5 separate regions of the Homo sapiens genome follow, and regions 1, 2, 3 and 4 are each linked to region 5. Evidence: promoter capture Hi-C in 16 types of primary human blood cells and fetal thymus (Javierre and others, 2016). All regions are on one chromosome and are shown on one strand. Each heading gives the region's core, a stretch centred on a gene start or on the middle of the fragment in contact. The rest is flanking DNA. Distances are from core to core; before and after follow the strand shown.

Region 1 (2,739 bases), core at 74-2,573, 160 kb before region 5:
GAGGGGCCGGGAGGGGTCCTGGCGAGCAGCAGGGCTGCGTCTAGGGCCTGCGTGCCCGGTGGGGCTGCTGCCGGGTGATTTGCCTGAGACATTTCCATGGCTGCTTTGGTTCTGCGGGCTGGGATTTCCATGCCTGCTCCCTCCCAGGCGTCGTGAAGCCTGCAGCCCTAGGTTCTGTTTCCGCCAGGTGCCCTCACCTTCTGGGACCCGGCCGAGCCCTGGGAACACTGGCTGGGGAGCAGTTACCCAGGGCCCATGGTGCTGAGGGTCACCGACCGTCCCTTGAGGCTCCCCGAGTTTGGTCCTAAGGGCTTGGTCTGGAGGCATCTCTGGTCCAGAACCTCAGGACTCACGGTGTGTTTAAGAACCAGGTCAGCAGCCCCTGGGGTGGGCCCTGCCCGTCTGTTCCGAGGAGCCACCTGGGGGCCCTTCCTGCGCAGCTCAGGATGTCTGAGAAGCCCGGGGTCCTCACCGCTCAACGGCCTTCTCCGGCACCCAGATCTCGGGCTCCAGGCCCCTTCCGCAGTTCACCTGTCCCGGGCCCCCCACCCAGCAGGAGTGCCGCCTGCCTCCCGCACGGCCGGCCTCCGTGTCCCAGACAGGGTTTGCCTCCAGGGTCCCCTCCCCACAGTCTCTTGGGGCAGGACCCCTGGCGAGTTCCCCGGAGTCGAGGCGGCAACCCCAGCAGACAACACGTGGAGGTGACGGTGGCACTGCCAAGCCCAGGCCAGGCTCTCAAGAATGCTCGGGCCCAGCCAGAGCCTCAGGGTGAGCTCAAGGCACCAAACCCAGAACGGCCCCACCCAGGGGGAGCGTGGAGTGCGAGGAGGGGCAGCCACGGTCCGTTCTGTGGCCTCGGCTCTCCAGGACTCGGAGGCTCCACGCCCCTTCCTGCTCTGCCCAGCCTGGGGCTGCCCCGCTCCCCTCTGCCTCTGTCTCCTGCTGCCCCTGGGGCCTCCGTCTCTGTCTCCTGCTACCCCCGGGGCCTCCGCTCACAGCAGCCACTTCTGCCACCAGCAAGACATCAACAAAGGTCACTGGTGGGACTTTAAATACACATTTAAATAGACTTTTTATTTCTAATAATTTCTGATCAACAGAAAAGTTGCACAGGGGTTTCAAAGATCACAGAGACCTGGCGTCACTGTGAGACCCGCACGTCAGCTGGTCCGTCTGTCGCAGCAGCCAGTGATGACCAGCAGCTAAACCCCACACGCTGGCCAGCCTTTTTCCCTCCTGTCCTTTCCGTCCCAGAACCCCATCCAGGCCCCGTGGCCTCGTCACCTCTCCTTGGTCTGTGACAGCTTCTCAGACTTTCCTTGGTTTAGCAACCTTGACAGTTTTGAGGAGTGCTGCTCAGGTGTTTTGTAGAGAGTCCCTCAGTTTGGGTTTGTCTGATGTTTTTCTCATGATTATACTCTGGGGTTATGGGTTTTGCGAAGAGGAGGATGGAGTCCTAAGTTCCAGAGCCCAGTGTCCCATCACCCCATTGAGTCCGGGTTCCAGGCTCTCCACACAACCCAGCTCTATCATCCCATCGGGGATCCACGCTCTCCACACGACCCAGCTCTATCATCCCATCGGGGATCCAGGCTCTCCACACAACCCAGCTCTATCATCCCATCAGGGATCCACGCTCTCCACACGACCCAGCTCTATCATCCTCTCAGGGACCCAGGCTCTCCACATGACCCAGCTCTATCATCCCATCAGGGATCCAGACTCTCCACATGACCCAGCTCTATCATCCCATCGGGGATCCAGGCTTTCCACACGACCCAGCTCTATCATCCTCTCAGGGACCCAGGCTCTCCATACGACCCAGCTCTATCATCCCATTGGGGATCCATGCTCTCCACATGACCCGGCTCTATCATCCCATCGGGGACCCAGGCTCTCCACACGACCCAGTTCTATCATCCCGTCAGGGATCCAGGCTCTCCACACGACCCAGTTCTATCATCCTCTCAGGGACCCAGGCTCTCCACATGACCCAGCTCTATCATCCCATCGGGGATCCAGGCTCTCCATACGACCCAGCTCTATCATCCTCTCAGGGACCCAGGCTCTCCACATGACCCAGCTCTATCATCCTCTCAGGGACTCAGGCTCTCCACATGACCCAGCTCTATCATCCCATTGGGGATCCAGGCTCTCCACACGACCCAGCTCTATCATCCCATTGGGGATCCACGCTCTCCACATGACCTGGCTCTATTATCCTCTCAGGGACCCAGGCTCTCCACACGACCCAGTTCTATCATCCCATCAGGGATCCACGCTCTCCACACGACCCAGCTCTATCATCCTCTCAGGGACCCAGGCTCTCCACACGACCCAGCTCTATCATCCCATCGGGGATCCAGGCTCTCCACACGACCCAGCTCTATCATCCCACCGGGGACCCAGGCTCTCCATACGACCCAGTTCTATCATCCCGTCAGGGATCCAGGCTCTCCACACGACCCAGCTCTATCATCCCATCGGGGACCCAGGCTCTCCATATGACCCAGCTCTATCATCCCATCAGGGTTCCGCGTTCTCCACACGACCCAGCTCTATCATCCCATTGGGGATCCAGGCTCTCCACATGACCCAGCTCTATCATCCCATCAGGGATCCACGCTCTCCACATGACCCGGCTCTATCATCCTCTCAGGGACCCAGGCTCTCCACACGACCCAGCTCTGTCAACACTCCCCTCCATCACCCAGCTGAGGCTGTGCCCATCAGGTTTCT
Region 2 (2,899 bases), core at 82-2,581, 180 kb before region 5:
TTCGCATTTGGGAGGTCAAGGCGGGCGGATCACTTGAGGTCAGGAGTTCGAGACAAGCGTGGTCAGCATGATGAAACCCTGTCTCTACTAAAAATACAAAAAAATTAGCTGGATGTGGTGGCGGGCACCTATAATTCCAGCTACTCTGGAGGCTGAGGCAGGACAATCGCTTGCACCTGGAAGGCGGAGGTTGCAGTGAGCTCAGATGGCACCATTGCCCTCCAGCCTGGGCAACAGAGTGAGACTCTGTCTCAAAAAAAAAAAAAAAAAAAAAAAAAAAAAACCAGTTATGCCTGTAGGTTGCTTGAGAGTCAAACACTTCTGCAAGGCTTGGACACATATGATCTTCAGGCCGCGCCGAGGCCACCAGCTCCGTGTGCTGGGAGGCTCCTGTGTTTACTTCCAACGTCACTGGCAAACGGCAGCTTCTCAGCACTCCAGCTTCAGGGTCAGCCCTGAATCTGCCCTGTGGAAGGGGCTGTTTGCCGCCCTCCCACCTCTCGTCCCGCCGTCACGCGCCGCGCCTGGTCTCTGCTGTCACTCTGCTGGGCGCCGGGGACTAGCTTGGTGCCAGGTCCACCGTGGCCGCCTGTTCTCACCCGAACTCTGAGCTGTTTCCCTGAAGTTAATAATCGCCTTTGCTTTTCTTCTTGCTTAGCTTTCTCTGAACTCATTACTAATTCAGCCTCAGACTCTCCCCCATGACTTAAATTCCGGCACGCCAGGTATTTCTGAGGGGCCTCCGGGAGCCTCCTGCCCTGCCCGGGGCTGGTCGGCTCCCTCGGGCCTGGGGCAGGGCTGGCGTCTTGCAGGCTTCGTGGTCCGTGTCACAAAGGTCCCATTGCTTCTCCCCTGGGTGGGATTTTCCCGGGCCCCACACCTCCCCTTTCTTGTCTTCTCAGTGTTTTGGTGGAACAAGCCCCTCGCAGCTCCCCGTGAGGTGCAGGGGGTGGGCCCCCACCACGCCCACAGCTGCAGCTGCCTGTGAAGGGCACAGGGCGGGCCCCCACCAAGGCCTTCGCTTCCCTGCGAGTTGAGAAAACCTCGCCGCAGGGTCCCCGGCTCCCGAGGCTGCTGTGGGTCCGGCAATGGCATCCCAACCCCGGGGCCTTGGTATGGAACCTGTTTCTGCGGGTTTTTTCCTGAAAGTTTTTGGGGCCTTCTTTTTGTCTCCATCTCTGCTGTCCTGTGAAGGTGGATCTTTGTGTGGTTCCGTTTTCATCCCTTTCACGGGGTCCTCAGTGGCTCTTTCTGTCTGGAAATGCCTGAGCTTCGGCTCCAGGAAATGTTCTTGAATTACAATTTTTAAATGATTTTGTTCTTTATCTTTTCTTTTTGTTGTTGCTCTCTCTTTCTCTGGTGAATATTGCTGCAATTTGGAGCAGGTCCTCTAATCACCTTTTCTATCCCATTTTCTTTGCCTTTTCACGTCACGTTCGGGGAACGTCCTGGCTCCGTCCCTTCCAGCGCTTTTCGTTTCTGTCCTCGGAGTCATTCTTTTTAAGACGGAGTCTCGCTCTGTCGCCCAGGCTGGAGTGCAGTGATGTGATCTCGGCTCACTGCAAGCTCCGCCTCCTGGTTCACGCCATTCTCCTGCCTCAGCCTCCCGAGTAGCTGGGACTACAGGTGCCCACCACCATGCCTGGCTAATTTTTTGTATTTTTAGTAGAGACGGGGTTTCACCGTGTCGGCCAGGATGGTCTCGATCTCCTGACCTCATGATCCGCCCGCCTCGGCCTCCCATAGTGCTGGGATGACAGGCGTGAGCCGCCACGCCCGGCCCCTCGGAGTCGTTCTTTCTGTTGCATCCTCATGGTTTTCTGTGGCCACGTGCTTTCGCTCATCTCTTCGAGGACGTTCCTGATAGTTTGTGCCTCTTCTTTTCAAGGCTTCTTCTCCTTGCACAAGACGGTCTGGAGAAAAACCCGCATTTCCTTCCGTCACACTGACCACATTTAACTTAAAATGGGAAGAGAGCAAAACATTCCACAGGCAAAGTCAGGGGACTATTTTAATGACAGAGACACATGGTTGAAATCAATGCTGCACTCTGAGCCCTTAGAAACCGTCGCAAAGGACTCCACGGAAGGGTGGGGGCAGCCCCAGCGAGGTCGTCAGGGAGCAGAGCCCGAGTCATGGGACACAAGGCCGGACCCCTCACCGCCAGGGAAGCGGAGTCACAGGCACGTGGCCCTCTGCGCCCAGGGTCAGGGCACGGGAGGCAGAGCCTGAGACGGGGGTGCCCATGCAGGGTGTGCTGGGGGTGGGGTTGTGGGGCCTCTCAGGGGCAAGGGGCAGGACCGGACAGCAGAGAGATCCCACTCCTGCCTGAGACCCGCCGCCATCGCCGCCGCGAGCCCTGCGTTGGGCATTGGGGCCAGGCACCTGCCAGGAGGGCCTCTTCCGAGGTGGGGTGTCACCTGGGATGTGTCCGCTGGCAAATGGGAGAAACACCAGGGCGGCTGCCGGGGAGGTCGATGTCAGGGAGCCCGTAGCCCTGAGCCCATGTGTGGAGGAAGCCCTTTGTCTGAGGAGCCTGCGGCCGCCTTGGACCCTGGATGCTTGCAGGGAATCTACACAGGGTTGTCAGGTACGACAAGGGTGCCCAGGGCTGAGGAGGGTGCCCATGCGGCCTCCTACAATGCGTATGGGAAGCCGGTGAACGCCCTCCCTCAGGGCTGGCCGGGTGCGTCTGGGGTTGTCCTAGCTCCAGCTGCTGGAACAAAATACCGAGCCTGGGGACTTAAGCAACAGAAATGTATTTTCTCACAGCCTCGGAGGGGGAGGGGAAGGTCCGGTGTCCCAGGGTTGCCGGGCTGGTTCTGCGGAGGCCTCTCCCGCTGCTGCCTTCTCTCAGGCGGCCTCTGCGCAGGTCCGTCCCGTGTCCCTCTGCCCTAAC
Region 3 (2,700 bases), core at 27-2,526, 210 kb before region 5:
TGACACTATCGTTGGATTTCAGGTCTACCGTTTTTACCGTTTATTATTTGTTTTCTGATTGTCCCTGTGTTTTTTGTTCCTCTATTCTCTTTCTGGCCCTCTTTTGCGTGATTTGAAGTTTTAAAAATTCCTTTCCAAGTTATCTTTTGGCCCTTTAGTTGTGCTTCTTTCCATTATTCTCATAGTTGTTGCTCTAGGAATTGCAATTTCAACCTTGCTTTTTCTAGTCTACTTAGAACTAGCATTATACCACTTTATGCAAAATGTAGACATGTAGACACCTTGCAACTGTACAGTCCACGGATCCCCTCTACTACTCTTCACGTTGTGGCTGTCATATCTGCATACATTATAAACCCAAGAGATGTTTTAATTTTTCCCCAGATATTTACTAATTTTGATGTTCATCATTCATTCTTAAAGATCTGAGTTTCACTGTAGTATATACTATCTTCAGCATTTCCGGTAGCACAATTTGATGGTGACAAATTTTATCAGTTTTCCTTTTTCTGAAAATATTTTCATGTAATGTTTATTCTTAGAGAATACAGAATTCTATGCTTTTTTTTTCTTTCAGCAGTTCCACTTTCTTCTGGTCTCCATAATTACTCACAAACTTGGTCGGGCGTGGCAGCTCACGCCTGTAATCCCAGCACTTTGGGAGGCCAAGTGGGTGGGTCACTTGAGGCCAGGAGTTTGATGCCACCCTGGCCAACATAGCAAAACCCCATCTCTACTAAAAATACAAAAATTAGCTCAGCATGGTAGCACACGCTTGTAGTCCCAGCTACTTGGGAGGCTGAGACACAAGAATCGCTTGAACCCAGGAGGCAGAGGTTGCAGTAAGCTGAGACTGTACCACTGCACTCCAGCCTTGGTAACAGAGCAAGACTGTATAAAAAAAAATTTTTTTTTAAATCTCACAGACTCAGTCTATCAGCTCATGGTCTATCAGCTCAGGGTCTGTCAGCTCATGGTCTATCGGCTCAGGGTCCATTGGCTCACATCTATCAATCAGCTCAGTCTATTGGCTCAGGGTCCGTCGGCTCATGGTCTATCAATCAGCTCACAGTCTGTCGGCTCACGGTCTATTGGCTCATGGTTTATCAGCTCAGTCTTCACAGTGCTGTGCTGTGTGTGATCTGTTGTTTTTCTCTGGCTGCTTTCAAGATTTTTAAAGTTAATCTTTAGTTTTTAATAGTTTTAGGGCTGGGTGTGGTGGCTTACACCTGTAATCCCAGCACTTTAGGAAGCTGAGGCAGGCAGATCCCCTGAGGTCAGGAGTTCGAGACTAGCCTGGCCAACATGGAGAAACCCCGTATCTACTAAAAATACAAAAATTAATCGGGCATGGTGGCACGGGCATATAGTCCCAGCTACATGGGAGGCTGAGGCAGGAGAATCGCTTGAACTGGGAGGTAGAGGTTGCAGTGAGCCGAGATCGCACCACTGCACTCCAGCCTGGGCGACAACAGCAAAACTCTGTCTCAAAAAAAAAAAAAAAAAAAAAAAAACAAACTTTTGAAGTGATGGGTCCAGGTGTGGTTTTATTCTCATTTATCCTGTTTGGGATTCTTAAAACTAAACATTTATGTCTTTCACCAAATTTGAAAGTTTCTGGTTACTGTTTCTTCAAGTACTTCTGTCCACTGTGCCTCTCCTCTCCTGGACCTCTGTAATTACCCATGTGTTAGACATGTTGATATCACCTAAGGTCCCTGAGGCTTAGATATCACCTACAGGTCCCAGAGGCTCTGTTCATGGTTTTGTTTTATTTTCCTCCAATCACTTCCACCCTTTTTTTTTTTTCCAGCTTGGATGATTTCTATTCCTCTGTCTTTGAGGACTCTGCCTATTTTCTCTGTTATTTCCCTTCTGTTATGTTCATTCAGTGAATTTTAAAATTTCAGATCTTGGCCAAGCACAGTGGCTCACGCCTGTAATCCCAGCACCTTGAGAGGCTGAGGTAGGTGGATCACCTGAGGTCAGTTCAAGACAAGCCTGGCCAACATAGCGAAACCCTGTCTCTACTAAAAAAAAAAAAAAAAAAAAAAAAAAAAAAAAAAATTGCCAGGCGTAGTGGTGGGCACCTGTAGTCCCAGCTACTCAGGAGGCTGAGGCAGGAGAATCACTTGAACCTGGGAGGCAGAAGTTGCAGTGAGACGAGATCGTGCCACTGAACTCCAGCCTGGGTGACAGAGTAGAACTGTCTCAAAAATAAATAAATAAAATAAAATTTCAGATCTTGTTTTTTTTTGAGACAAGAGTTTCACTCTTGTCCCCCAGCCCCAGGCTGGAGTGCAGTGGCATGATCTGGGCTCACTGCAGCCTCTGCCTCCTGGGCTCAAGTGATTCTTTGCCTCAGCCTCCCGAGTAGCTGGGATTACAGGCGACCACCACCAAGCCCTGCTAAATTTTTGTTGTTGCTGTTTGTATTTTTAGTAGAGACGGGGTTTCACCATGTTGGTCAGGCTTGTCTTGAACTCCTGACCGCAGGTGATCCACCTACCTCAGCCTCCCAAAGTGCTGGGATTACAGGCGTGAGCCACCACGCCCAGCCAGATCTTGTGTTTGTTTGACCTAAAATTCCCATTTGGCTCATTTAAACATGTTTCCTCGCTGAGATTTCCGGCACTTTGTTCATTATGCGTGCATTTCCCTTTTCTTCACTGAGCACAGACACTAAACCTGCTCCAAAGT
Region 4 (2,700 bases), core at 192-2,691, 240 kb before region 5:
TTCCCTGACTCCTCCAAGGAAAGGAGACTCCCTTTCCCGGTCTGCTCAGTAACGGGTGCCTTCCCAGACACTGGCGTTACCGCTTGACCAAGGGGCCCTCAAGCGGCCCTTATGCGGGCATGACAGAAGGCTCCCCTCTTGCCTTCTATTCACTTCTCACAATGTCCCTTCAGCACCTGACCCTATACCTGCCGGTTATTCCTAGGTTATATTATTAATGCAACAGAGTAATATTAAAAGCTAATGATTAATAATGTTTATAATAATGATGGATAATTGTTCATGATCATCGCTGTATCTAATTTGTATTATGACTATTCTTATTCTATTTTCTTTATTATACTGAAACAGTTTGTGCCTTCAGTCTCTTGCCTCGGCACCTAGGTACTCTTCCGCCCACACGGGACGGGCTGGGGGTGGCCATCTCGGGCTCTGGGAAGGGGCCGGGGCTGTGAGCTGAAGGCTCCATCACCTCCAGATGCTGCAGCAGCAGGAATGCCGGTTCCTGTACCCTCGGAAGGAGGGGCAGAGTGTGGAGAACAAGCCCAAGAATCACTACAAGAACATCCTTCCCTGTGAGGGCGGAGGCCAGGGCGTCACCCGTCGGGCCTGGGGGAGGTGGGGGGCAGGCCGAGCATCTGCCACCGCTGACCTGAGGCTCCCCCTTGCATACCCTGGACCCTCCATCTCTGCTCACCACAGGGTCTGCGGGCAAAGAGGCAGGGTGAGGCCCACGAGCTGTGCCCTGGAGAACTGAGCGGCACCTCCCTTCCCAGTTGATGCTACCCTTGAGTCATCCTGCTCAACGAGGATGACAGCGGGCCCGGAGCCGACTACATCAGGGTGGGTGTGTGCGGGAGGCGGGGCCTGGGCCCATTGCTCCTGGGGGGCTCAGGAAGAACCAGGGTCCCCAAGGGAGGGGTGGGCGGCAGTCTCCAAGGGGTCCTCAGAGAGGCTGGACGGGCATTGGTCCTCAGCCCCTTGCTGGCCTGGAGTGAGGAGTGTGTTTAAGCCACCAGGGCTCTTTGCATAATATTTGTGTGTCGTTTGCATATCATTTGCATAGCATTTGCATGGACTTGTTTGTCCTCTGTTAACAGCAGCAGTTGGCCTCATTCCCTTTCAGACTGACCCTGAGGAGGAGCCGGGCCATGGCAGGGGCAGGGTGGACATCCCTTGTGGCCCTGCCCCGCCGCACCTGCACCTGCACAGCCCGCGTGGGCCCGCCCCGCCGCAGCTGAAGTGCACCACCATGGGCCCGGCCCGCGGCTCGCGGCTCGCGGCTCTGGGCCCGGTTCACCTCGTCCCGGAAGCCGAGGACGCCGGCGGGATCGGTCCGGACGCCGTAGTCCGGCCAGCCGAAGTACTGGAAGTGCTGCACCGTACGCTGTGGCTCCTCCCCGCGGGGCAGGGCCTCGCGGGCGCAGGGTGTACATCGCCTGCAGGGCTGTCTGCAGGCCTGTCTGCAGGCCACGGTGGCTGCTTTCTGGGCCACGGTGCACCAGGAGAACACGCGTGTCATCGTCATGACCACCAGGGAGATGGAGCGGGGCCGGGTAGGGGTGCGGTGCCAGTGCTCCCAGTGCCCATCCCACCCCGTGCATCTTCGGCTGCCCAAGGCCCTTCCCGACCAGGCCAAGGAGGCTGTGGGACGCCGTGGGAGTGGGGAGGCTCCCACAGAGCCCCGTGGCTGCACGTACACACCTGCGTCTCTGCAGGTCGCAGGGGCGGGGTGCCGAGGTGCTGCCAGCAAGGCTGATGCAAAGCGCTCCCCTCGGAACAAGTGTTTCCGGGACTGGCCAGAGCTGCCCGGCAGCCAAGAGTTCGGCCGTGTGCACATGCGCGTCCTCGGCAAGGGCCAGGCCCAGGGCTACTGCGTGCGGGAGCTGCAGGTGTGGCGGCCGGGCCAGGTGAGCCTGGCGGCTGTGGAGCGTGCCTGCTGTCGGCCTGCACTGGGAGACCCCACACCTGCCTGCATCCAACCCCACTGCCTTTGGGGGCTTCCACACCCCTCAACCCAGGAGGTGCATTCCAAGCCTGGACAGGGGTCACTGACGTGGCCACATTCTCAGCCCTGGGCTGGCGGCCGCTCCTCCCACACACCTCTCCAACTGCAGCTTTGGTCTCCGTTGTATACCAGAGACGCCCATTTCTGCTCCGGGCAGATTACCTCGTGTTCCCTCCAGCCCCCGCCCAGTGTGTGTGGGGGGGTCCTCCAGGACCCCATGGACCCCTCACATTTGGTTTTTCCTTATAAAATAACTGTCCTCACAGCCTGCTTCGCCCGCCCCCAGCTCCCTCTTCCCTTCCCCAGGCACCTGAGCCACCTGGGGCCATCTCGGCGCCCCCTCCCCATTTCCTTCCTCCTCCTCCTGCTCGCCTTGGCTCCCGCAGCCCCTCCGCTTGGGCACTCCCGGAAACCCAGCTGTGCCTCAGCCTCCTCCTCCCACCCTGGGGTCACACTCACCGCTTGCCCCGCTCAGGAGGAGCCACAGCGTACGGTGCAGCACTTCCAGTACTTCGGCTGGCCGGACTACGGCGTCCGGGCCGATCCCGCCGGCGTCCTCGGCTTCCGGGACGAGGTGAACCGGGCCCAGAGCAGCAAGCCGCGGGCCGGGCCCATGGTGGTGCACTTCAGCTGCGGCGGGGCGGGCCCACGCGGGCTGTGCAGATGCAGGTGCGGCGGGGCGGGGCCACGCG
Region 5 (2,700 bases), core at 117-2,616:
CTCCTGAGCCTCCTGGTGAGGGCTCCAGGGATACAGAGGCTCCCCGTGCCTCCACACACATGCTGACTTGCCAGCAGATCCCAAGAGACCCAGCGCGCGCGTGCACACCCACACATACACAATCAAGCACACATGTGCAAACATGTTCATGCACAAACATGCCTGCACACACTGGTACCACACATACATGTGTGTTCAAGGAGACACTGCACAGACACGCATCAACATGTGTACCTAGTGATGGAACACGCGTGTACAAGGTGATGTGTCTATTGCTGACATGGCTAACACAGTACGTGAACCCACACAGACAGGTGGTGTGTGCACACGCTTGCGTGCACTCATCGGCAGGCTACATGCAGAAGCAAGCACAGCCCCGTGGCACAGCTCATCCACACGTCCTGTGCAAGGCCTGGTGTCCGGAGGGAGGCACGCAGAGGGGCAAAGTTCACAAGAGCGCACCCCGCACGAGCTCGTGCAGAGGAGGGGGCCTCACGCAGGTGCGCACTTGGGGATGCAGAGAGGTTTCTTTGCCTCCATTGTCGTTTGCCAAATGTCCACCAAGCAAAGCCGATGCACACTTGTGCACACGTCTGTGAACATGTAGTTCACGCAGGTGTACACGCCTGCACGCCACGAATGATGGAAAACATGCAGACTCGGTGTGCACACAACCCCTACCCCCTACCTGACCTTCCCCGCCGCTCTTCTCGGCCGCCACCCCTCCAAGCCCCTGGGTCATTCAAACCACTTCACGTTTCCAAGCACCCTACCCCAGGCCTTAAACGCGGCTCCAGCTGCCTGTTCCCCACGCGCTGCTCTGGACACAGGATCAAGTCAGAGACCAGGGGCCGACGCCCCCACGGACCCAGACGACCCTGGCCAGAGCTGGACTGCAGGGCCCGGGAGGGGCTCAGCCCAGTGGAGGTGCAGACACAGAGCGGGGGCGGACGGTCCCGAGGTGCCCACGGCTGCCCACGCGCACGCCCTCCACCCGGGGCGGCCGCACAGGGCAGGAGCGTCTTTTGTTCCAACCCCCGGGGCATGGCGGGGCGGGGCCGCCGCTTTGTCCGAGGCCGGTCCTCCAGCCCCTCCCCGGCGGCCGCGGCCCGGCCCGGCGCTGACCTCCCCACCCCGCCGCCGGGCACAAAGGCGACAGCGACGCCCCCGGCCTGCGCCCACCCCGGCGGCCCCGGGCGGCGCACCTGAAGCGCGGGGAGTCCTTGACGCACTCCTCGAACTCCACGGTCATGGCTGCGGCGGCCGCGGCGCTCACTGGCACGAGGACCGCGGCGCCGAGCGGCAGCCGCGCCGGCCCGGACCGCTCGTCCCGCCCGCGCCGCCTCGGCGCCCGCCCGCCCCGGAATGAGGCCGCCGCGCCGCGCCCCGCCCCGCCTGTCACCGCCGGGGAGCGTCGCCAAAGTCAGCCGCCCGCGCGCACCGCCCGCTGTCACTGCCGGGGAGCGTCGCCAAGGTCCGCCGCCCGCGCGCGCCGCCCGCTGTCACCGCCGGGGAGCGTCGCCAAACGCCTCTCGCAGCGTCCAGGGACCACCCCGGTCCGGAAGTGAGGCGGGGCCTGCCACGGCCGTCTCCGGGGACAGTCGGTGGAAATGTGGGGCGCGGGGAGGGCGCGGGGAGGGCGCGGGCCCGCCCGCTCCAACCATCCCGGCCGTTGCGCAACTCAGGGCGTTTGCAAAAACCACGTCTGGGAGGACTTGGCCGCAACGCGGCGAACGGGCGCGCTCGGGGAGTGTGGGCGGCGGCGAATGAATGAGCGAGTGAACGAATGCACGCCCGCGAGAGCGCGGGGTGACCGCGTGGTTGGTGCGCGCCTCCCGGGGCGCCGCGATAGAGGTAGAGCGCCTGCGCTCGGCGGCGGGCCGGCACTTTGCAGCCGCTCCCTAAGCCCGGCCCCGCCTCCGCTCCCCGACTCTGGCCGCCGTGGCGCGGTGCCACCGCGCAGGCGCAAGAGCGGCCGGGGCCGGGGGGGAGGGGGGGGGGGCGTGACCAGGCCGCGTCCGCGCGCGCGCAGGATTCCTGCGCTGGAGGCCGCCTCTGACGCCACCGGCTGGGCTCCGCCATGAGTTCGGCGCCGGCCTCAGGCTCCGTGCGCGCGCGCTATCTTGTGTACTTCCAGTACGTGGGCACCGACTTTAAGTAGGTTTCCCAGGCGCAGCGGCGGGCGCCACGTGGGCCCGGGCGGAGGCGGGAAGGAGGGCGCGGGCGGGCAGGCGGATGTCTCTGGACGCGGGTTCCAAACGTTCGGGGAAGGAAGCGGCCCTGGCCTCAGACGGCGGCGGAGACCCCAGGGCAGGGCGCCCCCGGTAACCTCCGCCCGCTTCTGCCCGCAGCGGGGTCGCGGCCGTCAGGGGCACTCAGCGCGCCGTCGGGGTCCAGAACTACCTGGAGGTGCGCTCAGCCGGTCACGGGACGCCCGGTGAGGGGTAAGGGGGAGGCTCCCGCCCGCGCGTCCCCGGGGTCCGGCCTCGCTCACCCGCCCGCCCCGCGGCTCGGTCCTGCAGGAGGCCGCCGAGCGGCTGAATTCCGTGGAGCCGGTCAGGTTCACCATCTCCAGCCGCACGGACGCCGGGGTCCACGCCCTGAGCAACGCGGCGCACCTGGACGTCCAGCGCCGCTCAGGCCGGCCGCCCTTCCCGCCCGAGGTCCTGGCCGAGGCCCTCAACACACACCTGCGGCACC

What was found. The method cuts DNA at HindIII sites, captures the fragments that hold promoters and counts their contacts. A CHiCAGO score of 5 or more calls a contact.
Region 1: a fragment that was not itself captured here is called in contact with the fragment with the promoter of ACAP3 in region 5 in 10 of 17 cell types (naive CD4 T cells, total CD4 T cells, total CD8 T cells and 7 more); the score reaches 9.3 in naive CD4 T cells.
Region 2: a contact is called between a fragment that was not itself captured here and the fragment with the promoter of ACAP3 in region 5, in 11 of 17 cell types (naive CD4 T cells, activated CD4 T cells, total CD4 T cells and 8 more). The highest score is 16.4, in naive CD4 T cells.
Region 3: a contact is called between a fragment that was not itself captured here and the fragment with the promoter of ACAP3 in region 5, in 6 of 17 cell types (naive CD4 T cells, naive CD8 T cells, total CD8 T cells and 3 more). The highest score is 9.6, in naive CD4 T cells.
Region 4: a fragment that was not itself captured here is called in contact with the fragment with the promoter of ACAP3 in region 5 in 7 of 17 cell types (M0 macrophages, naive CD4 T cells, activated CD4 T cells and 4 more); the score reaches 10.2 in M0 macrophages.

Annotation. Positions count from the first base shown.
Region 1 is chr1:1,150,894-1,153,632 of GRCh38, forward strand. The region is part of intron 1 of LOC124903820 (a long non-coding RNA gene); the gene reads left to right. Among named protein-coding and RNA genes, the nearest start is that of MIR200BHG, 11 kb to the right of the region's middle. The HindIII fragment of the contact is 7,276 bases long and covers 1-2,739 here.
Region 2 is chr1:1,129,934-1,132,832 of GRCh38, forward strand. The region is part of intron 1 of LOC124903820 (a long non-coding RNA gene); the gene reads left to right. Among named protein-coding and RNA genes, the nearest start is that of LINC01342, 5.6 kb to the right of the region's middle. The HindIII fragment of the contact is 4,801 bases long and covers 1-2,899 here.
Region 3 is chr1:1,100,583-1,103,282 of GRCh38, forward strand. All of the region lies in intron 1 of C1orf159 (chromosome 1 open reading frame 159), which reads right to left. Among named protein-coding and RNA genes, the nearest start is that of C1orf159, 14 kb to the right of the region's middle. The HindIII fragment of the contact is 5,940 bases long and covers 1-2,700 here.
Region 4 is chr1:1,066,094-1,068,793 of GRCh38, forward strand. It overlaps LOC100288175 (a long non-coding RNA gene), which reads left to right. Exons shown (of 4, transcript NR_148960.1): 4 at 1-360. It overlaps LOC105378948 (a long non-coding RNA gene), which reads right to left. Exons shown (of 5, transcript NR_168433.1): 1 at 2,468-2,700; 2 at 1,705-1,947; 3 at 653-705; 4 at 373-505. Among named protein-coding and RNA genes, the nearest start is that of RNF223, 6.9 kb to the right of the region's middle. RefSeq lists a silencer at 2,621-2,700. The HindIII fragment of the contact is 4,423 bases long and covers 1-2,700 here.
Region 5 is chr1:1,306,564-1,309,263 of GRCh38, forward strand. ACAP3 (ArfGAP with coiled-coil, ankyrin repeat and PH domains 3) reads right to left here and starts at 1,367. Exons shown (of 24, transcript NM_030649.3): 1 at 1,206-1,367. The coding sequence starts at 1,252. PUSL1 (pseudouridine synthase like 1) reads left to right here and starts at 2,034. Exons shown (of 8, transcript NM_153339.3): 1 at 2,034-2,157; 2 at 2,352-2,409; 3 at 2,523-2,700. The coding sequence starts at 2,081. RefSeq lists silencers at 916-1,135, 1,186-1,355, 1,396-2,075, 2,296-2,365, 2,396-2,535 and 1 more. The HindIII fragment of the contact is 38,674 bases long and covers 1-2,700 here.